Linked DNA regions of Homo sapiens: regions 2, 3 and 4 are each linked to region 1. Evidence: promoter capture Hi-C in human tissues and cell types (Jung and others, 2019). All regions are on one chromosome and are shown on one strand. Each heading gives the region's core, a stretch centred on a gene start or on the middle of the fragment in contact. The rest is flanking DNA. Distances are from core to core; before and after follow the strand shown. Region 1 holds the start of CCDC87 (coiled-coil domain containing 87). Region 2 holds the start of BRMS1 (BRMS1 transcriptional repressor and anoikis regulator). Region 3 overlaps TOP6BL (TOP6B like initiator of meiotic double strand breaks). Region 4 overlaps TOP6BL (TOP6B like initiator of meiotic double strand breaks).

Region 1 (7,892 bases), core at 5,005-7,504:
CCAGCCTGAGCAACAGAGCAAGACCCTAGCTCAAAAATATATATATATATATTTGGGGCCAGGCACGGTGGCTCACGCGTGTAATCCAAGCACTTTGGGAGGCAGAGGTGGGCGGACCACGAGGTCAGGAGATCAAGACCATCCTGGCTAACAAAGTGAAACCCCGGCTCTCCCTCTCCCTCTCCCTCTCCCTCTCCCCACGGTCTCCCTCTCTTTCCATGGTCTCCCTCTCATGCGGAGCCGGACTGGACTGTACTGCTGCCATCTCGGCTCACTGCAACCTCCCTGCCTGATTCTCCTGCCTCAGCCTGCCGAGTGCCTGCGATTGCAGGCACGCGCCGCCACGCCTGACTGGTTTTGGTGGAGACGGGGTTTCGCTGTGTTGGCCGGGCCGGTCTCCAGCCCCTAACCGCGAGTGATCCGCCAGCCTCGGCCTCCCGAGGTGCCAGGATTGCAGACGGAGTCTCGTTCACTCAGTGCTCAATGGTGCCCAGGCTGGAGTGCAGTGGCGTGATCTCGGCTCGCTACAACCTACACCTCCCAGCCGCCTGCCTTGGCCTCCTAAAGTGCCGAGATTGCAGCCTCTGCCCGGCCGCCACCCCGTCTGGGAAGTGAGGAGTGTCTCTGCCTGGCCGCCCATCGTCTGGGATGTGAGGAGCCCCTCTGCCTGGCTGCCCAGTCTGGAAAGTGAGGAGCGCCTCTTCCCAGCCGCCATCCCATCTAGGAAGTGAGGAGCGCCTCTTCCCAGCCGCCATCACATCTAGGAAGTGAGGAGCGTCTCTGCCCGGCCGCCCATCGTCTGAGATGTGGGGAGTGCCTCTGCCCCGCGGCCCCATCTGGGATGTGAGGAGCACCTCTGCCCGGCCGCGACCCCGTCTGGGAGGTGAGGAGCGTCTCTGCCCGGCCACCCCGTCTGAGAAGTGAGGAGACCCTCTGCCTGGCAACCACCCCGTCTGAGAAGTGAGGAGCCCCTCCGCCCGGCAGCTGCCCCGTCTGAGAAGTGAGGAGCCTCTCCGCCCGGCAGCCACCCCATCTGGGAAGTGAGGAGCCCCTCCGCCCGGCAGCCACCCCGTCCGGGAGGGAGGTGGGGGGTCAGCCCCCCGCCCGGCCAGCCGCCCCGTCCGGGAGGGAGGTGGGGGGGTCAGCCCCCCGCCCGGCCAGCCGCCCCGTCCGGGAGGTGAGGGGCACCTCTGCCCGGCCGCCCCTACTGGGAAGTGAGGAGCCCCTCAGCCCGGCCAGCCACCCCATCTGGGAGGGAGGTGGGGGGGTCAGCCCCCCGCCCGGCCAGCCGCCCCATCCGGGAGGTGAGGGGGTGCCTCTGCCCGGCCGCCCCTACTGGGAAGTGAGGAGCCCCTCTGCCCGGCCAGTCGCCCCGTCTGGGAGGGAGGTGGGGGGGTCAGCCCCCCGCCCGGCCAGCCGCCCAGTCCGGGAGGGAGGTGGGGGGGTCAGCCCCCCGCCCTGCCAGCCGCCCAGTCCGGGAGGGAGGTGGGGTGGTCAGCCCCCCGCCCGGCCAGCCACCCCGTCCGGGAGGGAGGTGGGGGGGTCAGCCCCCCGCCCGGCCAGCCGCCCCGTCCGGGAGGTGAGGGGCGCCTCTGCCCGGCCGCCCCTACTGGGAAGTGAGGAGCCCCTCTGCCCGGCCAGCCGCCCCGTCCGGGAGGGAGGTGGGGGGTCAGCCCCCCGCCCAGCCAGCCGCGCCATCCGGGAGGTGAGGGGCGCCTCTGCCCGGCCGCCCCTACTGGGAAGTGAGGAGCCCCTCTGCCCGGCCACCACCCCGTCTGGGAGGTGTACCCAACAGCTCATTGAGAACGGGCCAGGATGACAATGGCAGCTTTGTGGAATAGAAAGGCGGGAAAGGTGGGGAAAAGATTGAGAAATCGGATGGTTGCCGTGTCTGTGTAGAAAGAAGTAGACATGGGAGACTTTTCATTTTGTTCTGCACTAAGAAAAATTCTTCTGCCTTGGGATCCTGTTGATCTGTGACCTTACCCCCAACCCTGTGCTCTCTGAAACATGTGCTGTGTCCACTCAGGGTTAAATGGATTAAGGGCGGTGCAAGATGTGCTTTGTTAAACAGATGCTTGAAGGCAGCATGCTCGTTAAGAGTCATCACCAATCCCTAATCTCAAGTAATCAGGGACACAAACACTGCGGAAGGCCGCAGGGTCCTCTGCCTAGGAAAACCAGAGACCTTTGTTCACTTGTTTATCTGCTGACCTTCCCTCCACTGTTGTCCCATGACCCTGCCAAATCCCCCTCTGTGAGAAACACCCAAGAATTATCAATAAAAAAATAAATTAAAAAACAAAGTGAAACCCCGTCTCTACTAAAAATAAAAAAAAATTAGCTGACCGTGATGGTGGGCACCTGTAGTCCCAGCTATTCAGGAGGCTGAGGCAGGAGAATGGCATGAACCCAGGAGGCGGAACTTGCAGTGAGCCGAGATTGCGCCACTGTACTCCAGCCTGGGCGACAGAGCGAGACTCCCTCTCAAAAGAAAAAATATATATATATACACACATATATATATACACACACACATATATATGTGTGTGTATGTGTGTGTGTATATATATATATTTGTTTTTTTTTTAAGAAACTCAAAAAATTAGCCAGGTGCAGTGGTGAGCAGCTGTAGTCCCAGCTACTTAGGAGGCTGAGGCAGGAGGATTGCTTGAGCCCAAGAGTTCAAGCTGCAGTGAGCTATGATCAGGCCACTGCACTCCAGCTTGGGCAACAGAGCAAGACCCCATCTCTAAAATTGAAAAAAAAAAAAAAATCCAGGTGCTGTAGCTCATACCTGTAATCCCAGCACTTTTGGAGGTTGAGGCAGGTGGATCGCCTGAGCTCAGGAGTTTGAGACCAGCCTGGCCAACGTGGTGAAACCCTATCTCTACTAAAAATACAAAAATGAGCCATGCGTGGTGGCAGGCGCCTGTAATCCCAGCTACTCAGGAGGCCGAGGCAGGAGAATCGCTTGAACCAGGGAGGCAGAGGTTGCAGTGAGCTGAGATTGTACCACTGCATTCTAGCCTGGGCAACAGAGTGAGACTCTGTCTCAAAAAATAAATAAATACATAAATAAAAATTAAATTAAATTTAAAAATTGTAACACTTATCCCCACAGCACGAAACAGACATTGGAGGTGGGTATGGGAAGGCTTACTTTTCAGTACACATCCTGGTATACTTTGTACCATGTGCACGTAACTGGTAAAAATTTAATTAATTTTCTTCTTCCTAATAGTGTTTGAGAACTAAAAGAGGTGACAATTTAATGTAGTGTGATAGGAATGCTAAAGTGAGTTGTTCCAAAGATCACCTTTGCCTCTGACCCTTCCCACTACAATTAACTCCAAGGTCTCAGTTCTTTTGATATAGGAGATTTGGCTTGTATTGTGCAAGGCTTGACATAATGGGACTACTAGGCTTGGGGATTCTTTCATGAGAATTTCACTAAGAAAACAATAGTTTTAGTCTCAATCCCTTCATAGTTGGAAGCATAATGTTCCTGAACCCTCCACTCCCAGATATAGACAAATATTTCTTCTTCCAAAGCAGTAAAGAGGTCTAGATGAGCTGCTGGCCATTTAGGGGTGAGGGAGGCATTTGAGGGCACTGGGCCTGGTCAAGGAGTAATAGGGGTATTCCCAGGAGCTACTAAAGGCTGGCTGCTGAGCTCCTGAACAGGGTTGACTGGTGGGGATCCTTCAGGGCCGAGACCAGGTGGCGAACCCGCCGCTGCTGTTGCAGCCAATAGAGCATCTCCACTTTGTCACTCTTCATCTTGTCCAGGTAGGGCCGCCCCTTGAAGATCACTGGCTCGCCAAAGATTAACTCTATCTCCTCCAGGAGGGAAACCAAAGAAGACTCCATTAAGTTGAGCTTCCTGTGGAGATGGCTTCGGACCTGATTCTCCTCCAGGAAGTGACTGGAGCTCAAGTTGGTCTTTTTGAAGAAGCGGTTGGGATTGGAAGCTTGTCCCTCAAACCACTCTAGTCTCGCCAGCAATGCCTCCCGCAGCTGAATGGGCTTCAGGGCCCGCTCCCAGGCATTCACCAATGAAGGCAGCTGCCTCAGGCGGGCTTTGGAGCTATATTTAATGGTCATGTCCACCTGGTCCTTGTCAGGGACCTCAAGCACAGACCACAGTTGTTCCAGATGCTTCTGCAGGCTCAGAATTTTGTGGGGTTCTCCCAGGTGGGGTGTCTTCCCAGCTCCTAGCCTGTGCTCTAGCACAGTGTTCCAATCCCACTCTCCTGGCACAAAGTCTGGTTCTTCATCTTCTAGCAATGGGGGAGGGTGCTGAATCTCTAGGGACTCTCTGGCAGGGGCCACAATCTCCACAGGAACCTCTTCTTCATGCATTTGAAAGATGACATGAAGGAAATCTGTTTCATGGTTGGTGAGGTACTTGAAGTAGTCATCCACAGACAAGGTGGTTTTCCATGAGTTCATCAAGGAGGCCTTGTTTGACCACTTCTCCCAGCTTTTGGTAGCTTGGAGTGATGGGAGGGAGGGCATCTTCTTAGTATTGGACTGTAAAGTGTTTGCTCTCTGGGAGTAAAGTCCAACCAGCTCAGGGTTGATGATTTGAGGCTGTTTTTCTTGACGTAGAAAGGCTGAGGACAGGAAGGTCGACCAGTCTTTATCTGCTGCAGGCTCAACTAGGGGCCCTTGATCAAAATGTAAGTGGTCAGAAGAGACATGGCTCATCAACTCCTTGTAGACCTCCCTGGTAGTACTGCCAACAAAGTTATCAATATCCATTTTTTCAATGGCTTTGGGATCCAGTTCACCAGCCAGATGGTTATACAGGGCTCCGGCCCCCTCAATGTGGAAAGAGTCTAAGAAGTTTCTATCAGAGACCCGTACGGCAGCCGCCTGGACCACGACCTCATTTCTAAGCTTCAAAGTAATGGTCACTGGCTGTGGGTGAAGTGGAAAGGATTTGGGGGGCTGGGGGTCCCACTGCCCAGAGGCTTCTTCCTCCTGGAGGTTCCTCAACATCTTCTCCAGCTCCTCCAGGCGATGCCCTGCAGCTGGGTGACGGGTCACAACCCCCAGGAGAGGAGGCAGGCCTGAGTCCAGTGGTGGGTAGCGAGTCCCCTCCAACTTCATCTTCTTTATCAACTGCTTCAGATCCTCAGCCACGATGAGCCCAGTCAGCTCTGGTTTGCTCTCTGTAGCCAAGACCAGCGGGGTTAAGGGGCGAGATGGGAGTGGAGGAAGGCCCAACTCATCTGCCAGCCTCCAGCCCTCACGCAGGGAGGGCATGGATTGGCCTCTCCGGAGCTCAGGGCAGAAAGGCGAGGGGGAAGCCCTGCTGGTGGGGGCCACAGGATAGCTGGGCAGCGACACCATCTGTGAGGAACTGATGTCGATTTCTCTCTTCTTTCCTATGGAGGGCAGCCAGTGGAAAGGCTTTTTCCTCTTCAACCGAGGGATGGACTTCAATTCCTTCACTGGATCCATCCTTCCTGGCTCATTGAGAAACTCTGGTGGACGGCTGAGTTGGATGAGGTAGTTCAGGTTGAGGTTAGAGCACTGCACTTGGGCGAAGCCAGTGCTGTGAGGCCAGGGGATAGGGCACAGCTTGAACGTCCCAGCGGGGCAGACAGGGTGCAGCTTGTCCACATCCCCAGAGGCCTGCTCTGCCCTCAGCAGGGCCTGGAAGTCGGCAAGCAGGCCACGGTAGACGTTGGGACTAGTAAGGAAGAGTGTGCAGTCCCTGGCGAGGCTGGCGGCCAACCGGGTGAGGGTGGCTGATTCAGTGAAGACCCCCCTGGGAGTCGACATGGTCACCAGCAGGTGCAGGTAGCGCAAGAAGAGCTGCTCGCTGCTCAGCAGCACGTAGGCCTCGAGCCGCTTCCGCAGCTTCTGGTTGTTTTTGTGGCTCAGACTAAGTTCGGCGGGCGGCTCCCGCCAGCTGCACTTCAGCTCGTCCAGGATGACCTTGATGAGACGTAGTCGGGCCTCAGGAGGCACTCCCGCTGCTATCCCGCTGCCGGCCAGCAGCTTGGCCACCTGGCTGCACAGCGACGCCACCGTCAGCTTCGCCAGAGGGAAGGACTGCAGAATCCGGCCCTCCTGCGGGGGGCGCTTCTGAGGCTCTGGGGACGTCGTCCTAGTGGGGAAGAGCGACAGCGGACGCAGCAGCCGGTGGTAAAACCGCTGGAGCTCAGGCTCGGGCTTCGGGGGCTCCATCATAGAGCCGGCGGCCGCCACCGTCCAGGAACAGAAAGCCGAGGGGTTACTAAGGCAACCAGGAGCCCGACGGCCCGAGTGCGCCTGCGCGGCCGCCACCCGGTGGCTGACGAAGCAGGGCCTTGCGTGCGCACGCACTAGGAGGAGGAGTTAAGGGTGGCTTTAGAGGCTCAGTCCCCGCGACGCCGCGCTGGTTGGTGCTCCTGCGCCGGAGGAGTTCTGCGTCTCGGGGTGGTGACTGGGTCCAGAATGGCTTCGGATTCGGGGAACCAGGGGACCCTCTGCACGGTGAGGGTCGAGGCTTCGTGTGGAGCCTCGCCGGGCAGAGAGCCTCGGCCCCTGGGATGATCGTTACCTTGGGAAGAGGAGAAGGAGTGGGCACTTGGGTTGGGGCCTGGGGCCATGGGATGAAACTAGGGTGCGAGGGTAGCAGGGGCCCTGCGTGAGTGTTGGGGGGTGACTCCCATGGTCCTGGAATGGTCATGAGAGATCATGAAGAAGGTGCTTGAAGAGGGGTTAAGTGGGGCTTGTTCCCAGACCCTTGCGGTGGTCATAGGGTAGGTGGTGAAACAAAGTCATACCAAGGCACTTCCCCAGCGATCATCGGTTGGTCCCTGCCGCCCTTGCAGTTGGAGTTCGCGGTGCAGATGACCTGTCAGAGCTGTGTGGACGCGGTGCGCAAATCCCTGCAAGGGGTGGCAGGTAAGAACAGGGTAAACTTTTCTGCAGACAGTCCAGAAGCCTCTGGGAGGGACCAGGCGAATCTATTAGGCGAACCCTACTCCCATTTTACAGATGCAGAAAGTGAACCCCAGAGAGTGAAAGGCATGTTCTCAGAGTTACACACAGACCTGGAGGCAGAGCCTAGAGTACAGCTGTCCAGCTTGCCCTGACAGATTCTAACTGCCTGTCTTGTTGTCCTGAACCTCAGGTGCCCCAGAGACTGAGGAGCTAGGCTGAGGGAGTTCCTGGGAAAACAGGCAGTTTTTGCTTGGGAAACAACATAATCTTGACAAAGCAAACAGCAGCTCAGGCCCTATACCATCCTGGGTAGCTTTCTATACCACTGGGTGTGGTGGCTCATGCCTGTAATCCCAGCACTTTGGGAGGCCGAGGTGGGTGGATCACCAGGTCAGGAGATCGAGACCATCCTGGCTAACACAGTTAAATCCTGTCTCTACTAAAAAATACAAAAAATTAGCCGGGCGTGGTGGTGGGCGCCTGTAGTCCCAGCTACTTGGGAGGCAGAGGCAGGAGAATGGCGTGAACCCGGGAGGCGGAGCTTGCAGTTAGCCGAGATCGCGCCACTGCACTCTAGCCTGGGCAACAGAGTGAGACTCCGTCTCAAAAAAATAATAATAATAAATAAAAGGCCAGCTGGTCTGGAGGTGACCTGGCACAATGAGAAAGATCTGGAAAGGTAGAGCCACCAGCATGGCTCTGGGAACTGGCTTCCTTTGATTCTGTTAAGTGTTTATCCAGGCCAGGCTCAGTGGCTCACGCCTGTAATCCCAGCACTTTGGGACACCAAAGTAGGTAGATTGCTCAAGTCCATGAGTTTGAGAGCAGCCTGAGCAACATGGCGAAAACCCTCCTCTATAAAATATACAAAAATTAGCTGGGCGTCATGGTGCACTCCTGTAGTCCCAGCTACTGGGGAGGCCAAAGCAGGAGGATTGCTTGAGTCC
Region 2 (7,892 bases), core at 4,044-6,543, 250 kb before region 1:
CTGCTCCTCAAACTCCCACAAGCCCCTCAAATCTAGACCATCCTAACTTTCTTGAGCCACTGATTCTGACACAGTCACAGCCTTTCTCTGGGCTCCTTCCTGGAAGCTGAGCTGAGGAAAGGTGATGGCAAGGGGGCAGGGAAGGCCATGCAACAGCCATGGTTCTTACCATCCGATTTTCTCTTCTGAGGGGACACAGCTGCCCTAGCCTGGGTGGGTGAGAAGAAAAGCTCCCCTGAGAGCCCACCTCCAGCTTGGCAATCCCTGCCCCACCCCCCACCTCTGTGGCTTGTGGGCTGTTGCCTCAGTGCTGTGCCCCCAGGACCGGGAGCATAGGCCCCACCCAGGCAGAGCTCCCATGCTCCTGACTGCTGGCCAGCTCAGCGGCTCTCCCGCCTCCCCGCCACCCTCCCACCCCATCAAAACCTGCCCCAGAACGGGAAGGGGCTGACACAGACTAGAAATCCCTTTTCCCAGGGCCGCCTTGAGCAAGAGGACTTGTGAGCCAACTGCGATCCAGGGACTCTGGGCTGAAGATGGGGAAGCCTTGGTGAGCAGAGAACTCCCAGGCCTGCAGATGGCAGAGCTGCTGCCAGGGTGGGGGGCCCTGAGGTGGGGCAGGTCACGTGGGCAGCAGCGGCCCCCACCTTTTTGATGGCTGTCCAGTCCTCCAGGATGTCGATCTCTTGAAGCATGTACACGATGTATGGGCCTGTGGTGGGGGTCAAGGAAGCCTAGTGGAGGTGGCAGGTGACGAGGGCAGGGCCACCCACCTGACATTCAGGAGTGGGGGTACAGCGGACAGCATGGAGTGGGAGCTGAGGACCTGGGTCCGAGGTCAGGTTCCACCTCCTACCTCTTAACCCCCTGGTTCCAGGGGTCGTCCTGGAACCAAGTCTATGGAGGACACCAAATGTTGTTCCCTGTCCCTTGCTCACCCTCACCTCGTCTTAGGTCAGCTGGCTGAGGCCCATCCCATCTCACTCTGCAGCACTGGCCCTAACCTGGCCCCTTCCCTGATCCAAAGACAGACGCAGGGCTTATCCCTTCAGAGACAACTCTCCCTCCCCCAGTGCTCCCTACTTGATGTCTCCATGCCTTCACCTTCCATTCACTCAAGTCATGGCCTTCCAGATTCCTCCCTCCCTGCCTGGGCCTGCTCTCCAGCACCAGGTTGCCATAATGACTAAGACTGGCTGCTGCAGGAATACCCTCAGGGGTGCAGGAGGACTCAGCTCTGCCAGGACAGATGAAAGCACAGCAGGCCCTGGACTAAGCTTAAGCTAGCCCTGCCTAGGAAGGGGTGGAGGCAGCCAGTGCCCTCTGGGATGTGGGTACCCCATGGTAGGGCACAGAAGCACACAGGAAAGTGAAGCCATAGGCACCAGGGTAAGACCAGAAGAGGCCTCACAGAGGAGGTAACGTTTGAGATGAGCCCTGGACAGTCGGGACAGGCAGGACTTCCAAGAGGAGGGTGGGATATGAGCAAAGGCTCCCCAGGGAAAGCTGGGGACCCGCTCGGACAACCCCGGGAGATGGAAAGGCCTCAAAGGCCAAACCTCACTCAGGCTCAAGTGCAGTGGCACCATCACGGCTCACTGCAGCCTTGATCTCTCAGGCTCAAGCAATCCTCTTACCTCAGCCTTCAGAGTAGCTGGGACTATAGGTGCACACCACCACGCCTGGCTAATTTTTGTTATTTTTTCTAGAGATGGGTTTCACCATGTTGCCCAAGCTGGTCTCGAAAAGAACTCCTGGGCCCGAGCAATCTACCCGCCTTGGCCTCCCAAAGTGCTGGGACTGTAGATGTGAGCCACGGAGCCCAGCCCGTTTCTGTTTTCCTAGGGTTCACATAGCCCAGAGAGACCCAGGACCCCGTAAGAAACTGCTGACAGCTGGATTTGCCTGGACATATTCACATGACACCAAGCAACCACGAGTGCATCTAGTGTGACTGTCCTCCATGTCCCCTCCAACCCCCTCCCCTGGGTCTGGAGTTGACCCTTACATCCTGCCCACTTTTAGGCCACCTTGGGTGAAAGGATACCAGAAACCAGAGGTGCCTTCTTCCTCTTGCTGGGCGGCAGGGAGTCCCAAGACCTGGAGCTGCCTCTGGCGTGCAGTTTGTCATCCCACCATTCTGCCCCGAGACCCAGAGTTAGAATTGGGGTGCTGGCCCACAGGATACTCCCTTTTCTGTAGCCTCTGCCTCCACCATGGGCCGGCCTGGCCTCATCTCCCCTGTCCCATCACCACCCTGGGCTTGGGGTAGAAGCCCCTTAGGGCTGTTCAGGTCCTGCCTGCACAGCTGCACAACCCTGGGAAGAGGTCACTGCACTTCTGTGAGCCTCATCTGTTTAGTGGAGAGTGGGATGACGACAATTCCTGCCACCCCAGGACTCCACGTGAACACAGGTACTATGAACATGGAGGGGACTAGAGCTATTGCATGTGACTGCATGTCACACTGATACCTGTTTTGGAAAGAGCAGGGGCAGAAGAGGCAGGGAGACCCACTCTGCTTGAGCCCCCATTATGTGCCAGGCCCTTTCCAGGCCTGGTCTCCTTCAGCCCTCACACTGACCCCAACAGGCAGGTCCTCTGGCTGTCCCCTTGACTTCAGGACATCTGAAGCCCAAAGAGGGGTGGGCGTGGACTGAGCGGGGCCCAGTTCCGGGGTGCCCAGGCTCTCGCGCTTACCAGAGCTGAGGTCCAGGCTCTGGCGGTCCTCCTCCAGCCTCTGGATCCGCTCCTGCAGCTCCCCCTGCAGCGTGTCATAGAGCAGCAGCTTCTCACTCTGGAAGAGGGGGCAATAGCTCAGCAGGACGGATGGGGTGAGGCCACTTCAGGCTTTGTGCCCTGCCTCACCCCCAGTGTGCCCAATCAGGCCCACCTCCAGGTGCTGTTTGGCTCCCTGCAGCTCACATTCGTACTTATTCCTGATCACATCCAGACAGAAGCCCTTGTAGATCCCTGCAGAGAAAGGGAGGAGGGTCCCTGCTTGGCTGGGGAGCCCGGTGCCCACATAGGAGGGCTGAGAGCAAAGGGCAAGGCCGGGCAGGAACGAGAGAGGAAGGGGACAGGGTGCCACGGGTTCTGGGAGGGGAAGAGGGTACAGAACCACCCACAGACCTGCCACCTGAATGCGAATCTTGAGGCTCCGCTGCAGCCCCCCAAGGGGCTCCGTGTATTCAGGGGCTCTCTCAGCCCCCACTTCCTCCAGCCGCAACCGCAGCTGACTCAGTCGTTCCCTGAACAACCTGCGTGGTAAAAAGGCAGCCGTGCACCCATTTGCTCACCCATCGCTCTTGGGCAAACACATACCCAGCACCCATTCCACAGCAAGCCCGGTGTTAGGCGCGCACTTCCTGGGCACCAACCACGCCTGCCCAGTACCAGGCCCACCACCTCCTCATCCCAGATCCTCGCAGACCCAGCCCAAGGTGTCCCCACGCTCACTTCTCCTTTAGCTCCGAGAACTGCTTCTCTAGGTCCAGCATCTCACTGACACACTCGCTGCGGCGTCGCTCATAGTCCTCATCATCCATCTCTGGGACAAGAGGCCAGTAAGGGCTAGCTCTGGGGAGGAGTGGTGGGTACCCGCATGTGTGCATGTGCGTCCTGCATGTGTGTGTGTGCATGCATGCCTGTGTGTAGGGCCTGTGTGTGTGTGCGCGTACATGCTTGTGTGAAGGGGCTGTGTGTGTGCGTGTGTGCTTGTGTGTAGGGGCTGTGTGTGCATATGCGTGCGTGCTTGTGTGAAGGGGCTGTGTGCACGTGTACTTGTGTGAAGGGGCTGTGTGTGTGCATACGTGCTTGTGTGTAGGGGCTGTGTGTGCGTGCTTGTGTGTAGGGGCTGTGTGTGCGTGTGTGCGCTTGTGTGCAGGGTCTGTGTATGTGCTTGTGTGTAGGCGCTGTATGTGCATGTGCGTGCATGCTTGTGTGTAGGGGCTGTGTGTGTGCATGTGTGTGTGTAGGGGCTCTGTGTGTGTGTGTGTGTGTCTGTGTGTGTAGGGGCTCACCGGAGCTCTCCTCTTCTGACTCTGTCTGGCTGCCGCTCCGCTCCTCCTCACTCTCTTCCTCCTCCCCATTCATCTCAGCAGCAGAATCACCCTCTGCTTCCATCTCTTCTGTGTCTTTGCTTGGAGGCTGGACAGGCATCTGGACTCTGGGAGAAGGAATGGAGCTATCACTTATGGCTGCCCACAGCTCAGAGGGGGAAAGAGGCAGCAGGATGCTGAACACAACTCGATCCCAGATGGGGAAAGCCAGGGAAGTAACTGGCCTGGCCACACCTTGAGCACAAACTGGGTGACAAGGGTGCAAATGGCCATCTGCACCTCTCACAGAAGGCTGGGAGCTGTGGAACTGCTCCTGCTCTTGGATGTCACTGGTGATCCTAATCCTAGCAATACTGGCCAAGGCTGTGATCCACAGAAAGGAAAGGCCCAGGGGGCACTCTCCACTGCCTTTGCAACTGGACCTAAATTTCTTTTCTTCTTATTATTTTTTGAGACAGAGTCTCGCTCTGTTGACAAGCTGGAGTGCAGTGGCACGATCTCAGCTCACTGCAACCTCCTCCTCCTGGGTTCAAGCGATTCTCCTGCCTCAGCCTCCTGAGTAGTGAGATTACAGGCGCCCGCACCACACCCAAACTGGACCTAAATTTCTAACTGGGGCTTTCAAGGTCTTTCCCAGACTGGACTTGACCTACCGGTCCAGCTCCTTCATCCCAACATATAATGGCTAGTGCTTGCACTTCCACTATCCACCCTCTGCCTCAGCTGTTCCTTCTGCCTATAATGTCCTCGGCTTCTCTTCCAGATAATGTTACAATCTCCTTGTCTTTCATTGTGCTCTGGGTCAAATCCCATCTCCTTCTGCTTCCTCTTGGACCGCAGGTCATCAGTGCTCCCCTCTCTTTTCTGTGTCTTCAGCTTCTAACTCTTAGCAACCTCCTTCCCATGAAACTTTGGATGTGCTTGGGTACTTCCTAGCATTAACAAAACACAGAAACACAAAACCTCACCCATTCCACCTAACTGCTCCATTTGCCACTTCACAGTTACACTTTTCAAGGTCTCATGAACACTGGCTGTTCCTACTTTCACCTCCCACTTGTTCGATGTCCTCAATCTCAGCTGAAACTGATCCCGTAGCATTAACCAATGACTTCCTTGTGGCTAATGCCAATATTTTTCAGTGCTTATTTTAATTGTCTGCTCGGCAACATCCAACACTGGTAAGCATTCCTTCTTTTACTGACTCATCTAACATGTATTGAACATCTAACATATGCTAGGTACCGTCAGACGCTATGGTATGCAGGCGCCCAAGTGTGAATGTCTTTGACCTCACGGAGTTTACAAGTTCCTGGGAGACAGGGGCAAAGGAGCACACTATAACCATGATAGGAGGAGAGTTAAGACCAGGGGCATAAGGGAGGGGTATATAACCAGGACCTGGAGCCCGATGCAGCAGGGAGGCTTCCAGACAAAGATGGACCAGCTGGGTGAGCTGCACTTATTGAGGGAACATTCCAGGTAGAGTCAGTAGCAAAGACCCAGAAATAAGAGAAGGAAAGCAGCTGGGGGAACATGGGTCTAAGTCTCAGTGAGAAATCTGAGCTGCAGGGATTTGGTCGTCAGCATACAGCAAGTTCTTCATGCCACAGGAGAAGGTGCAACCAGCAAGGCACAATGTGTGCGATCAGAAGACGCCCAGGGTCACCAAAGGGGCAGATGAGGAGACCCCTACAAAGGAGGAGGCAAAACCCGAAGTGGTGGAGAAAGAGTTTTAGAAGAAAGCCAAGTACTGCCAAGGAGTAATTGCACTGATAGTGCCAAGTACTGCCAAGAGATCACCTAAGAAGAAGAAAACAGTCCTCTCAGCAGATAATCTCTCAACCTCCTGCAGGCTTCTATTTTATTGTGTTCTTCCAACTTCTCTGGACACTGCTTTGTAGTCCTTTAGAACAGTGCAGACACCACTCCCTCCAGGAAGCTTTGTTTATATCTATTTGCCTGTTCTCATATCTGTCCCCGCAATCAGTCTATGAGCCTCACTAGGGCAGGGGCTGCACATGTAACTTATTTACCTAGCACAGTGCTGGTTCACTTGATGACTGGAGGATTTGCAAATACAAATTTAACAAAAAAATTTTTTGTGAGACAGACATTAGTTTTTACTTTTCGGTAGTCCCAGGTCCCTGTAATGGTAGCAAGCTTTCCTTGACACCAGTTCAAGTTGTGTATAGTAAGCCTGGCCTAGGTGAGTGTTTAGTCATATTCCTCAACAATTTCACTAATGACCTGCACCTGACTTGAAAGGCTCGGTTCTCTAAACCAGCTTCATCTTCCCGTTATCAAGCCTCAGTTCCCAACATTTGCAATGCCTCTTCACTGTTAGTATATTCACTTTGTAAGATGCAGCTTAAGTCTATCTCTTCCAGAAGCCTTTCTTTCCTCCCCCTGGTTCTGATTATGAGTGAGTTAAGTCACAACCTTCCCACCTTACCCCGGGTGCAAAAAGCGGATAACCATTCCTGCTCTGAGTGTTGAGGAGCTCACAGGTGGTAAGGGATGGAAAAGCACACTGTAAAGCGCTGTACACAGGCAATTTATCTTTTCAGAATGGCAGCTCCTCCGGGGCAGGCCCCTAGGGAAGGCAGACCCTCCCCACTCTCGCAGAGGTCAATCCAGCTTCTCCGCAGCGCCCAGGGGGCCTCCCGCTCCCTTCTAGATGCGCCGGAGCGGGCCGGAATATCACTGGCTCGCCCGCAGCCCAGCACGCGTCAGGCCGGTTAAATCTCTGCTTCGGCCTCGGAGGAGGAGGTTGTGCCGGCCCTGCTCGACTAACCGGAGAGGGCGAACCAAAAGCCATGCATGACGATACGCACCGCGGGGACTGGAGCCTCTGGCCTCACGACGGAGATTCCCTGAGAGCTGCCCGTGGTTGCCGGTACCGGCTGCTGCCGCCGGACTCCCGTAGGCGCTGCGCGGCTCCCTTTTCTTCGGGAGGCAGAGCCTATCGGTGCTTCCGTGTGCGTCATCAGGAGGCGACCGTCGGGGATGCTCACAGTTGGACAGTTTGGTCCCGAGGCATGCTGGGATACCGCGGGCCGGTCTCCATAGTAACTGGCCGACATTCGCGCAGGCCTTCGGCCTGCAGGGAAGGCCCTGATGGTTCAGTGCTTTGCAGACGGTGCCCTTCGTCCGCGGCCATCTCCCCACGGCGTGCAAGGGGAGAAGCCGGCCCCGATCCCCCCACCCCCAGCTCAGGAGAGTAACGGAGCCAGCTGTGGGTGTGAACACGCATTTATTTACACATTGTCATCGGTAGGCACATACCCAGCCCAGCCCGTTGAAGGGACAGATCTCAGGCTGTCACCCATGGAACCTGCAGACCCTTCCCTCCTCCAGAACCCTTGAAGGCGAAGCCCTGAGAGAACCAGGAATTTTAGGCTTCTGTTCAAGAGCTAAGAACTAAATTTTATGCCTTCATCTGATTTCTTTCCAAAAAGTCCATTTCATTAAGTATTCAGACTTCTTAGCTCCATCCCATTCATACTTTTTGCTCTCCTACTACCCACCCAAGATTGTTAATAATAACAATAATAATAACAACAATAATACTGCGATAATATTAATACTTCACATTTGTACGAAGCTTACAGAATGTTTTCACATATAGCATCTCATCTGAGCCTCCCAACAGTTCCGTGAGGTAGGTATTCTCACCTCCCTTTTTACAGACAGGGTAACCGAGGCTCAGAGAGGTAACGGGATTTACTCAAGGCCACACAGCTAGTTAGTGGTAAAGCTAGGAATCGATCCCAGCACCCCATATCCAAGTCCAGTGTTTCAACACCACAGCTACCTCTGTAAAGTGGA
Region 3 (7,892 bases), core at 2,096-4,595, 210 kb after region 1:
AAAGAGAAACTAAGAAGCATCCGTTAGTGGCAGCAAAAGCAGGAGCAATGATATCTCTGAAATGCCAGTTTTTCTACTACTTCCATTGCTGTGATTCCCTGAGTGAGACATAAGTTATTTATTCCAACAAAACTGATATGGCAGGTTGTGTGGTTGTACATATGCTAGAGGTTACAAAAATAATTTTGAATGCTCTTTTAAATAATTTCTTAAGAGGAAAAAATGTTAAATTTGACTTGTCTGTTTTCTGACAGTAGACCAAATTTTGGTACAATTGAATCACACTGCAGCAGAATTCACCCTGTGCTAGGACATCCAGTAATGCTTTTCATCCCTGAAGACGTGGCTGGCATGGACTTGTTGGGAGAACTGATACTGACTCCAGCAGCTGCACTGTGCCCCAGCCCAAAGGTTTCTTCCAACCAGCTTAACAGGATTTCTTCAGTTTCCATATCCTTTTGATGAAAAGTTCCATCCAATTATCTTTGAAATGGGTTTTTATATCCCAGTTTTAGGAAAGCCTTTAGTATGTGAATTCTGCATCTACAAATATATATGATTTGTATAAAAACATATAATCTAATGTGAAAGCCAAGCTTGAAAATTTTGCCAGGGAACTGAAAACTGTAAAATGTGACACATGCCATGCGTTTTTCATACAATCCAATATGACTGAAGCATGAAATGAATGGTGCACGAGGAAGAGATGGGACTAGAAAAGTAGTCTGGAGTTGAATATGGTAGATCTTGAGTGCCATACTAAGGATTGTGAATTTTATTCTCTGTATAGTAAGAAACCATTGAATGTTTTGGGAGAAGTCTTTAGCAGCATTATAGAGTACGGATGGGAGACAGAAGTTAGTAATACTAAGTAAATAAGTAAGTGAACTGGATTAAAAATAATGAGTGCTTGACGGCTGGGTGCAGTGGCTTACACCTGTAATCCCAGCACTTTGGCAGGCCGAGGTGGGCGGATCACTTGAGGTCAGGGGTTTGAGACCAGCCTGGCCAATATGGTGAAACCCTGTCTACTAAAAATACAAAAATTAGGCCGGGCGTGGTGGCTCACACCTGTAATCCCAGCACTTTGGGAGGCTGAGGCGGATGGATCACAAGGTCAGGACTTGGAGACCAGCCTGGCCAACATGGTGAAACCCCATCTTAGTAAATACAAAAATTAGCTGGGCATGGTGGCAGGCGCCTGTAATCCCAGCTACTCAGGAGGCTGAGGCAGGATAATCACTTGAACCTGGGAGGCAAAGGTTGCAGTGAGCCGAGATCGCAGCCACTGCACTCCAGCGTGGGCAACAGAGTGAGATTCCGTCTCAAAAAAATAAATTAATTAAAGCCAGGCGTGGTGGTGTACGCCTATAGTCCCATCTACTTGGGAGGCTGAGGCAGGAGAATCACTTGAACCTGGGAGGTGGAGGCTGCAGTGAGCCAAGAACACGACACTGCACTCTAGCCTCGGTGACAGAGCAAGACTCTGCCTCAGAAAAAATAAAAATAAAATAACAATAATAATGAGTGCTTGAATCTAAAGTGTGGTAGGCACGGAAAGGCCAGACTTATCACCTGAATTAATCAACAAAATGTGGTAACCAGTTCATTATTAAGGTAGGGAGAGATTAGGGGCAGGGAATGTCTAAGGTTGATGTCAGATTTCTATTCTATGTCTGTCTAGAATAGGCAAATACAGAGAGAAAGTTGATGGAGGGGCTTTTTTGTTTTTTTTTTTGGAGACAAGGTCTGGCTCTGTTGCACAGGCCAGAGTGCGGTGACACAATCTCAGCTCACTGCAACCTCTGCTTCCCGGACTCAAACCATCCTCCCACCTCAGCCTCCTAGAGACCACAGGTGCATGCCACCATGCCCAGTTAATTTTTGCATTTTTGGTAGAGACAGAGTTTCACCATGTTGCCCAGGCTGGTCTCAAACTCCTGGACTCAAGCGATCCACCAGGCTCGGCCTCCCAAAGTTTTGGGATTACAGGCATAAGCCACTGTGCTCGGCCTGGAGGGGCTTCTTTTCAGAGTAATGAAAGTGTTCTAAAATTGATGGTGGTAGTGACTGCACAACTCTTTGAATATTCTAAAATCCATTTTATTACACATTTAAAATGAGTGAATTGTATGGTATGTGAATTGTATCTCAATAAAGCTATTTAAAAATATTTCCATGAATAACTGACAGAATAATGATACTTTCAGCAAGATAAAAAAACATTAATAGCAGATTTAGGAGATAAAGAAGATGAGTTTGACATTAAACATGTTGAGTTTATGGTGTCTCAAGACATCCTTTGAACATAGTAAGGAGCTATATAGGAATTTGGTCTGGAACTTGGAAATGGTCAGATTTAGAGATACAGAATTTTAGAGTCTCAGTTTCCTCCATAGGTAAGAGTCGTGTAGTGCTGTGTTTAGAGCATGGCACAGGAGTGTAAATGTTGGATTCACTACTAATTAGCTGTGTGACTGTAGGCAACTCACTTAACCAGCCTAAGCCTTTACTTCCTCTGCTTTAAAATGAGGATGATACTTATCTCATAGGTTTAGTTTCCCTTGCAAAAATTGGTTTTCTGTTCTTTTGGGGTTTGTTTGCTCGTTTTAGAATTAAGTATAATAATCCATGTGAAGCTCCTAGCATATAATGAGTACTCAATAATATTAATAATTGTTATTGTCATATGATTGAAGCTATAGGAGTAAATGAAGTTATAGAAAATTATAAACAATGAGAACAGGCCGGACACGGTGGCTCATGCCTGTAATCCCAGCACTTTGGGAGGCCGAAGCTGGCGGAGCACTTGAGGTCAGGAGTTTGAGACCAGCATGGCCAACATGGCAAAACCCTGTCTCTATTAAAAATACAAAAATTAGCTGGACATGGTGGCACATGACTGTAGTCCCAGCTACTCGGGAGACTGAGACAGGAGAATTACTTGAACCCAGGAGGCAGAGGTTGCAGTGAGCACTGCATTCCAGCCTGGGCGACAGAGCAAGACTCTGTCTCAAAATAAAAAAAAAGAGAGAACAGAAGAGGCGTGGTATGATAGATGTCAGCTATCTGATGTTGCATATCAGATATCAAAAGATACCATAGTATCTTTTAGGGAGGTGGAGGGAGCAGGATAGTGATGAAGACTATGCTTGGACATTTTCTATTTTAAAACATGCTTTTTCTTTATATCTAGATAGTACAGAACAGTATAGAATAAATAAGTTTCTTCTTCTTCCTCATTCCATCATCTAGAAGGGATAAGACAGACAAATTTTTTGTCCTCTTGGGGAAAATTTAACAGATAGATATTAGGTAGTGATAAGTGCAGTGGAGATAAATAGAACAAAGTAGTAGAGAATGATGGAGATGTTATTTTAAATATGGGCAGTGAAGCCTCTAAGGAGGTGATGTTTTAAAAAAGAGAGAGAGCTAGCTATGAAAATTCTGTTGAGATTTTACTTTCTGAAAGTGGCAAACTTGATAATTTAGACCAACCTTCTCAATGAAGGCAAAGGCTAGATGAAATATTAAAACATCATAAAAGCAGGCCGGGTGTGGTGGCTCACGCCTGTAATCCCAGCACTTTGGGAGGCCAAGGTGGATGGATCACCTGAGGTCAGGAGTTCGAGACCAGCCTGACCAACATGGAGAAACCCTGTCTCTATTAAAAATACAAAATTAACCAGGCATGGTTGTGCATGCCTGTAATCCCAGCTACTCAGGAGGCTGAGGCAGGAGAATCTCTTGAACCTGGGAGGCGGTGGTTGCGGTGAGCCGAGATCGCGCCATTGCACTCCAGCCTGGGCAACAAGAGTGAGACTCCATCTCAAAAAACAAACAAACAAACAAAAAAATCATAAAAGCATCAAAGAGCTAGTGAAGAGGAAGAGTTTCTGTGCCATGATTTAGGAGAGGTTTGAATTACAGAGAGCTGAGCCTAGCATTGGGGGATGCTTTTGCCCTGGAGCAGTTTGCCAATTAGAGCAAGCAGTTGAGAGGCTAAGATGTATTAATACTTCCAAATCAGTGCAGGACAAGAAGGCCAAAGAATCCAGGACCTGCTGAGCTTGGGAGTGCTGCTAAAAACACCTCTTGCCTTGGGCAAGGGATAACTAGAAGGCTATATTTTAAGGAGTAAGGTGAACCTGAAATAAATTACTCTTCACATGGACTGTATATGCTTTTTGGTCATCTAGGCAGGCCAGAAAATCTTGAACTTTGAAATTGGATTAGGATGATTTTAGATTTGTTAGTTCTAGATGTTTTATAGAAGCAAACAAAAATTTCTAGAGGAAAATAACTGCATCCTGTGCTCCCAATTATTTAACACTTTTTCAAATACAGTGTCCCATGGTGCATATGCACACACACATGCACAGTCACAAATAACCAGGTGTAAGAAAGGACAAGATAATATGAACAAGAGCTAGCAAAAACAAAATCACAGAAACACCCACTGGGACTCCAGATACTGGTGATATCAGATATTGACTTTAAAAAGTTATGCTTAGCTGGGTGTGGTGGTTCACACCTATAATCTCAGCACTTTGGGAGGCTGAGGCAGGAGGATTGCTTGAGCCTGCAAGTTCGAGATCAGCCTGGGAAACACAGTGAGACCCCCATCTCTATACAAGTTACCTGTGCATGTGTGGTGCATGCCTGTGGTGCCACCTACTCAGGAGGCTGAAGTGGGAAGATTGCTTGAGCACAGGAGGTCAGGACTGCAGTGAGCCATGATCGTGCCATTGCCCTTCAGCCTGGGTGACGTGAGACCAGTTTCAAAAAAAAAAAAATGAAAAATTATGCTTACTATGTTGATGAAAATGAAAGCAAAGTTTGAAAATTTTACTAGAAAACTGAAACTGTAAAATATGAAATACCTTTTAACAAGAACAAAACAGAAATTGTAGAATCAAGAAATATAATAACCAATGTTGAATAAAATTCAGTACACTGGTTTAACAGCAGATTAAGTACAACTTAAGTGAATTTGTAAACTAAAAGCTAAAGATAGCAAGAACTTAGCAAAAATAAAACAAAGAGACAAGTTATGGAAAATACAGAAGAGAGGGGTTAACAGAGTAAAGAGTAAAACTGTCTAATGTATATTTAATTGATGTCCAAAAAGAGAAGAGAGAAGAGAAAATAGGGCAGAAACAATATTTAAAGAGTTAATGGCTGAAACAACTGAGACAGATTTGTGTGTGTGTGTGCGTGTGTGTGACGGAGTCTCGCTCCGTCGCCCAGGCTGGAGTGCAGTGGCTCGATCTGGCTCACTGCAAGCTCCGCCTCCCGGGTTCATGCCATTCTCCTGCCTCAGCCTCCCAAGTAGCTGGGACTACAGGCACCCGCCACCACGCCAGGCTAATTTTTTGTATTTTTAGTAGAGACGGGGTTTCACCGTGTTAGCCAGGATGGCTGAGACAGATTTAAGAACAGAATAATCAAGCAGTATAAATAAAAAAGATTTCTACACCTAAAGAGATGAAAAACAGAGAAGAATCTTAAAATCAGTCAGGAGGACAAATCATCTTTAAAAGATAAATTAACAGTTGACTTCCCCATACCAACAGAAGGTGTTAGACTAATAGTGTTAATGTCTTGAAATAAAATCATTACCAACCTAGAATTTCATATCCAATCCAAATATTCCTCAACATAAAAGGTAATAAACTTACCTGTATATTATGTTAAAATTATAATCCACGTAACAAGAAGAATTAATTCAACAGACTTTAGAACATGGTGTTTTGACTATACGTTCTTAGCAGGATATACTCTAAGGATGAAATGGAAGTCCAAAGACCTCTTAAAATTTATTCAGTGGCATGATTGTTAGTAATAATATTGGTATTTTATATTGGAATTATTGTATGCATACTTATGATAAATAATTATGTTAACAATGTTAGGAACCAAAGTTTTTAGCATCAGATAGAAGATATGTGAGTGTAAATTCAGAGAAATAACTATTTTTTTTAAAGGGATCTCACTCTGTTGCCCAGGCTAAAGTGCAGTTGTGCGATCATAGCTCACTGCAACCTCGAACTTCTGGGGTTAAGCAGTCCTCCTACCTCAGCCTCTCCTGAGTAGCTGGGACTACAAGCATGCACCATCATGCCTGGCTAATTTTTTTATTTTTATTTTTTGTAGAGACAGGGTCTCACCCCCGAGTTTCCAAATTTAATGAAAACTATAAACCTGCAGATTCATGATCAATGAACCCTAAGTGTAAGAAATATGAAGAAAATTATACCAAGTCACATCATAATCAAAGTATTTGAAGCCAGTAATAAAAAAATCTTAAAAGCAGCTGGAGATAAGACACATTATGTATAGAGGAACAAAATAATTATGGCAGATTTCTCACTGGAAACAGTGTTAGCTAGAAGAAAGTGGGGTAACATCTTTATAAAGTACTGAGAGAAAAAAGGCAAAATGAAGAATTTTTCAGACATAGAAAAGGTGAAAGAATTTATCACCAGAAGACCTGTATTATAAGAAATGTTAACAGAAATCTTTTAGGTAGAAGAAAAATGTTGCCAGACGGAATTCTGAATCTACCCAAAAAAGGAAGAGCACTGGAAGTGGTGGCTATGCGGGTAGATACAAAATACTTTTGTCCTTTTAAAAACACAAAATATCCTTCTTGAGTATATAAACCAAAAAGCATCCAAGACAGGTTTCAATCAGTTTAGAAGTTTATTTTGCCAAGGTTAAGGATGTTCCTGGGAGACAGGTCTGTGCCTTTCTCTAAAGATGGTTTTGAGGTCTTCAGTATTTAAAGGGGAAACGCAGGCTGGAGAGGAAAGATGGAGGGGATGATCACATTATTGAATCCATATGTTACAAGAGAAAAGGAGCAAGTAGGGGAACAGTCAATTATGTATTTGTCTTGTGCTCAGTAAAGTGGCCCTTTATATAATAGAAGGTGAACATTACAGTAGCTACCTGTAGAGGTATTTAACCCTTTATCTGTAGCTATCTGCTTAGGAACAAAAGGAGAGACAGCTTCTTGCATGACTCAGCTTTCAGCTAAATTATTTCCTTTTGGCATAGTGATTTGGGGTCTTGAGTTTTAATTTTCCTTTCACAAGTACCTTACCAGAAAAAAAAAAATCTTTAAAAAACAAGTCTTGAAGTCTCTCCCTTCAGGCTCCAATTACACATTCCTGAATTAGGCCACCTAAAGTTATCCTGCAGTTCACTGAGGCTTTATTCATTTATGTAGAGACAGGGTCTTGCTGTTTCCCAGGCTGGAGTGCAGTGGCTTGATCTTAGCTCACTGCAGCCTTGAACTCCTAAGCTCGTGTGACCTTCCCACTTCAGCCTCCTGAGTGGCTAGGACTACAGGTGTACACCACCATACCTGGCTAATTTTGCATGTGTGTGTGTGACATATCTTGCTATCATTTTCTATGTTCTTCATATTTCTTTTTTTTGAGATGGAGTCTCACTCTGTTGCCCAGGCTGGAGTGCAGTGGTGTGATCTCAGCTTACTGCAACCTCTGCCTCCTGAGTTCAATCAATCAGGCCCCTGAAATGATTTCTATCTCTGCCATTTCAGCCTCCCGAGTAGCTGGGACTACATGTGCCCACCACCATGGCCAGCTAATTTTCGTATTTTTAATAGAGACAGGGTTTCGCCATGTTGGCCAGGCTGGTCTCGAACTCCTGACCTCAAGTGATCCGCCTGCCTTGGCCTCCCAAAGTGCTGGGACTACAGGCATGAGCTACTGTGCCCAGCCTATACTCTTCATATTTCTTATGCTTAGGGTTCATTGATCATGGATCTGCAAAAATATAATGTATAAGGTTTATAACATCTATGGAAATAAAACCTGTGACAATAGCACAAAGGCCAAGAGGAGAGAAGTGGAAGTATATTG
Region 4 (7,892 bases), core at 2,881-5,380, 160 kb after region 1:
AGCTAGGACTACAGGCATGTGCTACCATGCCTGGTTGTTTTATTTTTGTATTTTTCTAGAGACAGGGTCTCTTGCTATGTTGCCCAGGCTGGTCTGAAACCCCTGGGCTCAAGCAGTCCTCTCACTTTGGCCTCCCAAAGTGCTGGGATTGCAGGTGTTAGCCACCACGCCTGGCCAAGATGTTATTTATTTATTTATTAATTTAGAGACAGGGTCTTACTCTGTCACCCAGGCTGGACTGCAGTGGTGCAATCACTGCTCACTGCAGCCTTGACCCCCTGAGCTCAGGTGATCCTCCCACCTCAGCCTCCTGAGTAGCTGGGACTACAGGCATGTGCTACCATGCCTGACTAATTTTTGTTTTGTTTTGTTTTTGTTTTTTGAGGCAGAGTCTCACTCTGTCACCAGGTTGGAGTGCAGTGGCGCCAGGATCTCGGCTGGCTGCAACCTCTGCCTCCCAGATTCAAGCGATTCTCCTTTCTCAGCCTCCCAAGTAGCTAGGACCACAGGTGTGCACCACCACGCCCAGCTAATTTTTGTATTTTTAGTAGAGACCAGGTTTCACTACGTTGGCCAGGATGGTCTCGATCTCTTGACCTCGTGATCCACCCACCTCAGCCTCCCAAAGTGTTGGGATTATAGGCGTGAGCCACCGTGCCTGGCTGACTAATTTTTTTTTTTTTTTTTTTATAGAGATGAGGTCTCCCTATGTTGCCCAGGCTGGTCTTGAAGTCCTGGACTCAAGCGATCCACCTGCCTCAGCCTCCCAAACTGCTCGAATTATAAGCATGAGCCATTGTGCTCAGCCCTAAATTGTTATATCTTAATTTTCCTTTTTATAGGCATTTATTGATTTTCCACCATAGAGGATGATGGCTCTCTTTAATATCTTCACCTCTACCATGTGTCTTTCTTTTAATATAGTTATAATTTTCCAACCACGTAGATCAATATTTACTCATCATGACCATAAAATGCAGTTTAGCCATATAGAAAACTATGATTACTTTTCTTTATAATTTCCCTTCAGTTAATACTTATTTTATTTTCTGTTTTTATCATCTAGTCAACTCGCAAACTTCCAGCATTTGTCTAAATCTACTCAATATATTCCAGTACATCAGATAATATATCAGTTTCATCCTCCTGAAAAACTCTTTTCCAGTGTATCCTGACCTGCTCTAATTTTGACTTGATGCTTTCTGTATCTGGTGCACAGCTGTTACCTTGGAATCTTCCCTTCATCATTATTCAGAGTGTTTCTGTAGTTTTTCTCTTGCATTGGATTTTGTGCTTCCTGAATCCCTCTCTCTCTTTTTTTTTTTTTTTTTACTTGGCTTACTCCTTGCTTTGATGGATCTCAGGCTCCAGTAGCTTCCTTGGAAAGAGTGTTTGGAAGGTAAATTTCTTGAGACCTTACATCTCTGAAAACATCTCCACGTATACCTAATTGATAGTTTGGCCATATAGGATTCTAAGCCAGAATTCATTTTTCCTTCAGAATTTTGATGACATTGCAGCATTATTTTCTAACTTAAGGTGTTGCTATTGAAAAATCTAAAAATCTTTCTGATTACTCTGTATGTGACCTGTTTTTTCTTTTTTCTTCCCCTCTGTGTAAGCTTTCATTTTTATTTTTTTGAGATGGAGTTTCACTCTGTCACCCAGGGTGGAGTGTAGTGGCATGATCTCGACTTACTGCAACCTCCGCCTCCCGGGTTCAAGTGATTCTCCTGCCTCAGCCTCCTGAGTAGCTGGGATTACAGGCGTTACACCACCATGCCTGGCTAATTTTTGTATTTTTCATAGAGATAGGGTTTCATCATGTTGGCTCGGCTGGTCTCGAACTCCTGACCTCAAGCGATCCACCCACCTCAGCCTCCCAAAGTGCTGCGATTACAAGCATGAGCCACCGTTCCCGGCCTCTCTGTAAGCTTTTAGAATCTTCTCTTTATCCTTGTATTAATTACAGTAAATAAGGGTAGGTGCTATAACAAACCCTAAAATCTCAGTGGCTTGGCCAGGCGCGGTGGCTCACGCCTATAATGCTAGCACTTTGGGAGGGTGAGGCCAGCGGATTGCCTGAGCTCAGGAGTTTGAGACCAGCCTGGGCGACACGGTGAAACCCCATCTCTACTAAAATACAAAAAATTAGCCAGGTGTGGCAGTATGCGGCTGTAGTCCTAGCTACTCCAGAGGCTGAGGCAGGAGAATTGCTTGAACCTGGGAGGCGGAGGTTGCAGTGAGCCAAGATCACACCACTGCATTCCAGCCTGGGTGACAGAGTGAGACTCCGTCTCCAAAAAAAAATATATATATATCAGTGGCTTAACACATAAAATGTTTAGTTTTCTTGTATTTCACAGTCAGATGAATGTGTGTGTATGCAGGCAAGCAGGCAAGTATTTTGTTTTATGCTATCTCTGTCTTGCGGGTGTATCCTTCTCTAAGTCCTCTAAGTTCTCTCCAGCTAAGGATGGGGAAAGAGAGCAGAGCTTATAAATGGAAGACTTTTATGGGGTAGGCTCGGGAATTGGTATGTTACTGCTGCTCACGTTCTATTGGCCAGGACTTAGTCTTTTTTTTTTTTTTTTTTGAGACAGAGTCTCACTCTGTCACCCAGGCTGGAGTGCAGTGGCATGATCTCTGCTCACTGCAAGCTCCACCCCCTGGGTTCACGCCATTCTCCTGCCTCAGCCTCCCGAGTAGCTGGGACTATAGGTGCCTGCCACCACGCCCGGCTAATTTTTTGTATTTTTAGTAGAGACGGGTTTTCACCGTGTTAGCCAGGATGGTCTCTATCTCCTGACCTCGTGATCCACCTGCCTTGGCCTCCCAAAGTGCTGGCATTACAGGCGTGAGCCACCGCGCCCGGCCATGTTTTTATGTTTTTTAAGACAGAGTCTCATTCTGTTGCCCAGGCTGGAATGCAGTGGCATGATCTCGGCTCACTGCAACCTCCACCTCCCAGGTTCAAGTGATTCTCCTGCCTCAGCCTCCTCAGTAGCTGGGATTACAGGTGTCTGCCACCACACCCAGCTAATTTTTATATTTTTAGTAGAGACAGAGTTTCACCATGTTGGCTAGGCTGGTCTCGAACTCCTGACATCAGGTGATACGCCCAGCTCAGCCTCCCAAAGTGCTGGGATTACAGGCATGAGCCACCACGCCTGGCCAACCAGGACTTAGTCTTATTGCCACAGCCCTGCAGTTGCAAGGAAGACTGAAAAACGTAGTCAGATTATGTGTTCAGGAAGAAGGAGAATGGGGTATTTGTTTGCGAGCACCAGCAGTCTCTGCTGTGGTCTCCATTGTCACAATGATGCACCTGGGTGTGGGTGTGTTTTCAAACATTGTGCTCAGCACTCAGCAAGACTTTTAAACCTGGAAACCCTTGTTCTTTGGTTCTGGGAGATTTTCCCTTGCATTCTCTCTTTTCTTTCCCCCCTTTCTGCAACTTCTATTATTTAGATATTAGACTTCCTAGACTGGTTCTTTTTCCTTTTTAAAATCGTTTCTCTCATAATTTTTATCTCTTCTACTTTCTAGGCATTATCTTTTTGAGTATATAAAGATTTTTTTAAAGTTTTCTTTTCTCCACCTCGTTCTTGTTTCCCTTGTATTGCTTTTCTTAGTCTGGTGTCTGTTTTCATGTTAGAAGCTTTCTTCAAATATCTTAAAATTACTGGTTGCTCATTTTTAAGAGTTAGAGACTATAAAGCTGATTTGAAATTTTAGCATCACTAAAAGGTGATCTAATTGGGCTTTTAACTGGGGAACTTTCTCTTCTCTTCAATATCAATATCTTTAGGTCTTTGCTCTTGGAATGACCAGATCTTTCAGTCTCTTACCAAGTGGGTAAAAGCCAGACTTGATTCTGGGAATGAGAGAGAAAAGGGGGTATTGGGTATCTCAGCATTCAGGGGTTCTGTTCACTAACTCCACTTGTTTTTAGTACAATTTTGATTCTCGTCCCAAAGATTGACACCTTGACCATTTTCAAGTATCTTCTCCCCAATCCACACCAAAGTTAGGGAGGAGCCAGTCCCTTGAATGCTGAGTGGAGGAGGGAATCTAAAGATTTATTTAAATTCATTTTTCAACAGACTCTCCTTAATTTATCTTCTACCTCACCCATACATTCAGAGGTTCCTGATACTGCCATGCCTGAGTGTTTTGCAATTTTATTATATAAATCAGGTTGTTTCTTGGCCTTCCCTGTCCCCTTATACTTAGATTACTCAGGTCTCCTAAATCCTTTCCTACTAGTCGTTCTGCTTTGTAGTTTCTAGATTTTTTTTTTTTTTTTGATATAGAGTCTCACTCTGTTGCCCAGGCTGGAGGTGCAGTGGTGTGATATCAGCTCACTTCAACCTCCGCCTCCTGGGTTCAAGAGGTTCTCCTGCCTCAGCCTCCTGAGTAGCTGGGCCTACAGGTGTGTGCCACCATGCCTGGCTAATTTTTGTATTTTTAGTAGAAACGGGGTTTCACTATGTTGGCCAGGCTGGTGTCGAACTCCTAACCTCAGGTGATCCACCTGCCTTGGTCTCCCAAAGTGCTGGGATTACAGGCATGAGCCACTGTGCCTAGCCTGTAGTGTCTAGATTTTTATTACAATCATGTTTGTCTCTTGTTTTCCATCCTTGTGGGTTTGTGCCCTTATAAATCTCTTTTCTATTATTTTATTGAGGTTTCAGGAGGGAATGAAAATAAACGTGTGTGTTCAATCGGCTGTCTTTACCTGGAAGTGTGCAGTGGTATCTTTTAAATTTGGTTTGAAATCTCTGCTCTCTAGGGCTGCTGTAACAAAGTACCACAAACTGGATGGCTTGAAACAAAATATATTTATTTTCTCACAGTTCTGGAGGCTAGAAGTCCAAAATCAAGGTCTTGGTATGGTTGGTTTGCTCTGGAGACTCAGAAATCTGTTCCATGCCTCTCTCCTAGCTTCTGGTGATTGCTGACAATCCTTGGTATTTCTTAGATTGTAGGTGTATCACTCCCTGCCTTCACATGGCATTCTCCTCTGTATTTCTCTCTTTCTTCACATGGCCTTCTTATAAGTACACCAGTCAATGGACTCAGGAACACCCTAATCCAGTATGACCTTGTCTTAACTTGCTGGCATCTATTTCCAAATAAGGTCATATACACTGGGGCTAGTACTTAAAACTATCTTTTGGGGGACATAGTTCAACCCACAACAGACTAGCAAATTTGATATCTGAGATGATTCATCTATCAGAAGCCAAGAGATAATTAGTTTTTTCCATCAGTAATTATTGAAGGCTTTAACAAATATGATTTTCATGATGTTTCCCAAAATGTATGCCACAGAATATTTATATGAGTTATAAGAAAGGAGTTATGTAGTCATTTAAATTTGGGAAATGTTAGTTAAAATAAGTTTTTAAACTATAGGTCTGTTCAGGACCTCTCATGTGCCAGTGTGGACTATGAAACATACTGTTTGGGAAATGCTACATACAGTTAACCCCCTTTTCCCCCCTTTTTTTTTTCTCAGGATGGAGTCTCACTCTGTTACCCAGGCCGGAGTGCAGTGGCGCAGTCTCGGCTCACTGCAACCTCCACCTCCCAGGTTCAAGTGATTCTCATGCCTCAGTCCCCCGAGTAGCTGGGATTACAGATGCCCACCACCATGCCTGGCTAATTATGGGTGAGGAGTGCTTCCACCTGCTCCACATCCTATCCAGCCCTCAATTTTCAGTTATATTTCCAATGCTTTTATATAAAAACGATAAAATTCTATCCTCCAGATGCAAAGATGACAGTAGAGACTTATCTGTAAAATACATATTTTAAAGCAAGCATTCCCCCAAATCCCCTCTATAGAACAGAAGATTATCTTTTTAAAACAATGTAAACAAAATTTTTTTCTGAGATGGGGTCTTGCTCTGTGTTGCCAAGGGTGGAGTGCAGTGGTGCCATCACGGCTCACTACAACCTCTGTTTCCTGGGCTCAGCTGATCTTCCCACCTCAGCCTCCTGAATAGCTGGACTACAGGTGTGTGCCATCATGACCTGCTAATTTTTGTATTTTTTGTGGAGATGGGGTTTTGTGATATTACCCAGGCTGGTCTTGAATTCCTGAGCTCAAAATATCTACCCACCTCAGCCTCCCAAAGTGCTGGGATTACAGGTGTGAACCACCATGCCTGGCCATAAGATGGTCTTTATAAAGGGCGGAGGCGGCGGTGGGGGGTGGGGGCGGGTGCAGGCACTGTGGCTCATACCTGTAATCCCAGCACTTTGGGAGGCTGAGGCGGGTGGATTGCTTGAGGTCAGGAGTTCGAGACCAGCCCGCCCAACATAGTGAAACTTCGTCTCTACTAAAAATACAAAAATTAGTCGGGCGCGGTGGCGTATGTCTATAATCCCAGCTACCCAGGAGGCTGAGGCAGGAGAATTGCATGAACCTGGGATGTGGAGGTTGCAGTGAGCTGAGATTGTGCCACTTCACTCCAGCCTGGGCGACAGACTCTGTCTCAGTGAAAAATAAAATAAAATAATAATGAAAAAGACTATCTGTTGTTAAATGTTCTGTGCTGCTTGGGCTTAGGCCTTTGGAAGTGTGTATCATTTATCCAGAATCACTTAAAATCTGGAAATCTAGAGTATTACTATCCAATAAAACTTCTTTGTGATGATGGAAATGTTCTCTGTCTCCTGTTTAGCAGACTAGTCATTCGCCACATGTGACTATGGAGTGCTTGAAATGTGGCTAATGTGACTGAGGAACTAAAATTTTTTTTTTGAGACAGAGTTTCGCTCTTGTTGCCCAGGCTAGAGTGCAATGGTGCAATCTCGGCTTACTGCAACCTCTGCCTCCTGGGTTCAGGTGATTCTCCTGCCTCAGTCTCCCAAGTAGCTGGGATTACAGGCGCCTGCCACCACGCTCAGCTAATTTTTGTTATTTTTAGTAGAGATGGGATTTCACCATGTTGGCCAGGCTGGTCTCGAACTCCTGACCTCAGGTGATCCACCCACCTCAGCTTCTCAAAGTGCTGGGATTACAGGCGTGAGCCACCATACCCGGCTGGAACTAAATTTCTAATTTAATTTAGCTAAATGTAAATAGCCACATGTAGTTTCTGGCTGCTGTACTGAACAGCAGTTTACAGAATGATGTTGCCTCTCACTCTAGTTCCGTGATTCTCAACCTTATTTCCCTGTCTGAAAGATGCACATTTTCTGAGGGATAGATATATTTCTATTGGTTCCTATGGCAATGATTCTTAGATTCTGAACTATGAGGTCATGTTTCTCTGGGGAAGGGCATATTCAATTTGAAAATAAAAAGCCTCTAGGTAGTTCTGATCTTTTTGTCCCCTCGTTGGTGCCTGCTTCCTTATTCACTGTCTACCCTGAATAATTATTGCTCTAAAATTTCTAATATTTATAGTTAGAACTCTAGGTAAGAGAATTCTTACCTGATACTGGTATTTTCTTTTTCTTTTTTTTTTTTTTTTTTTTTTTTTTTGAGACGGAGTCTCGCTCTGTCGCCCAGGCTGGAGTGCAGTGGCGCAATCTCAGCTCACTGCAAGCTCCGCCTCCTGGGTTCACGCCATTCCCCTGCCTCAGCCTCCTGAGTAGCTGGGACTGCAGGCACCCGCCACCACGCCTGGATAATTTTTTGTATTTTTTTTAGTAGAGACGGGGTTTCACCGTGTTAGCCAGGATGGTCTCGAGCTCCTGACCTTGTGATCCGCCCACCTCGGCTTCCCAAAGTGCTGGGATTGCAGGCGTGAGCCACCGCACCCGGCCGGTATTTTCTATTTAAGGGTAAAATTGGTTAGAAGAAGAGCCAAAGTTTGAATTGACTCGTATATTAGGATATGAGTTATTGACACGATATATTCTGATTACTAGCT

The links. The method cuts DNA at HindIII sites, captures the fragments that hold promoters and counts their contacts. A contact is called where the count stands out against the background at its distance.
Region 2: a fragment that was not itself captured here is called in contact with the fragment with the promoter of CCDC87 in region 1 in 2 of the 25 tissues and cell types used here (dorsolateral prefrontal cortex and pancreas).
Region 3: a contact is called between a fragment that was not itself captured here and the fragment with the promoter of CCDC87 in region 1, in 1 of the 25 tissues and cell types used here (IMR-90 fibroblasts).
Region 4: a fragment that was not itself captured here is called in contact with the fragment with the promoter of CCDC87 in region 1 in 1 of the 25 tissues and cell types used here (hippocampus).

The regions. Positions count from the first base shown.
Region 1 is chr11:66,586,809-66,594,700 of GRCh38, forward strand. It overlaps CCDC87 (coiled-coil domain containing 87), which reads right to left and starts at 6,255. Exons shown (of 1, transcript NM_018219.3): 1 at 3,368-6,255. The coding sequence starts at 6,207. The coding sequence ends at 3,658. It overlaps CCS (copper chaperone for superoxide dismutase), which reads left to right and starts at 6,377. Exons shown (of 8, transcript NM_005125.2): 1 at 6,377-6,492; 2 at 6,834-6,906. The coding sequence starts at 6,454. RefSeq lists enhancers at 5,041-5,630, 5,631-6,219, 5,782-5,841, 6,012-6,121, 6,152-6,241. The HindIII fragment of the contact is 7,748 bases long and covers 4,440-7,892 here.
Region 2 is chr11:66,338,074-66,345,965 of GRCh38, forward strand. It overlaps BRMS1 (BRMS1 transcriptional repressor and anoikis regulator), which reads right to left and starts at 7,031. Exons shown (of 10, transcript NM_015399.4): 1 at 6,899-7,031; 2 at 4,023-4,168; 3 at 3,460-3,550; 4 at 3,133-3,260; 5 at 2,894-2,973; 6 at 2,701-2,797; 7 at 2,048-2,140; 8 at 648-712; 9 at 170-209. The coding sequence starts at 4,161. It overlaps B4GAT1 (beta-1,4-glucuronyltransferase 1), which reads right to left. Exons shown (of 2, transcript NM_006876.3): 2 at 7,301-7,892. RefSeq lists enhancers at 6,771-7,321, 6,777-7,206. The HindIII fragment of the contact is 3,306 bases long and covers 3,641-6,946 here.
Region 3 is chr11:66,803,741-66,811,632 of GRCh38, forward strand. It overlaps TOP6BL (TOP6B like initiator of meiotic double strand breaks), which reads left to right. Exons shown (of 15, transcript NM_001302084.2): 7 at 255-450. Among named protein-coding and RNA genes, the nearest start is that of RCE1, 36 kb to the right of the region's middle. The HindIII fragment of the contact is 9,286 bases long and covers 1-7,892 here.
Region 4 is chr11:66,750,829-66,758,720 of GRCh38, forward strand. All of the region lies in intron 1 of TOP6BL (TOP6B like initiator of meiotic double strand breaks), which reads left to right. Among named protein-coding and RNA genes, the nearest start is that of TOP6BL, 10 kb to the left of the region's middle. The HindIII fragment of the contact is 4,704 bases long and covers 1,779-6,482 here.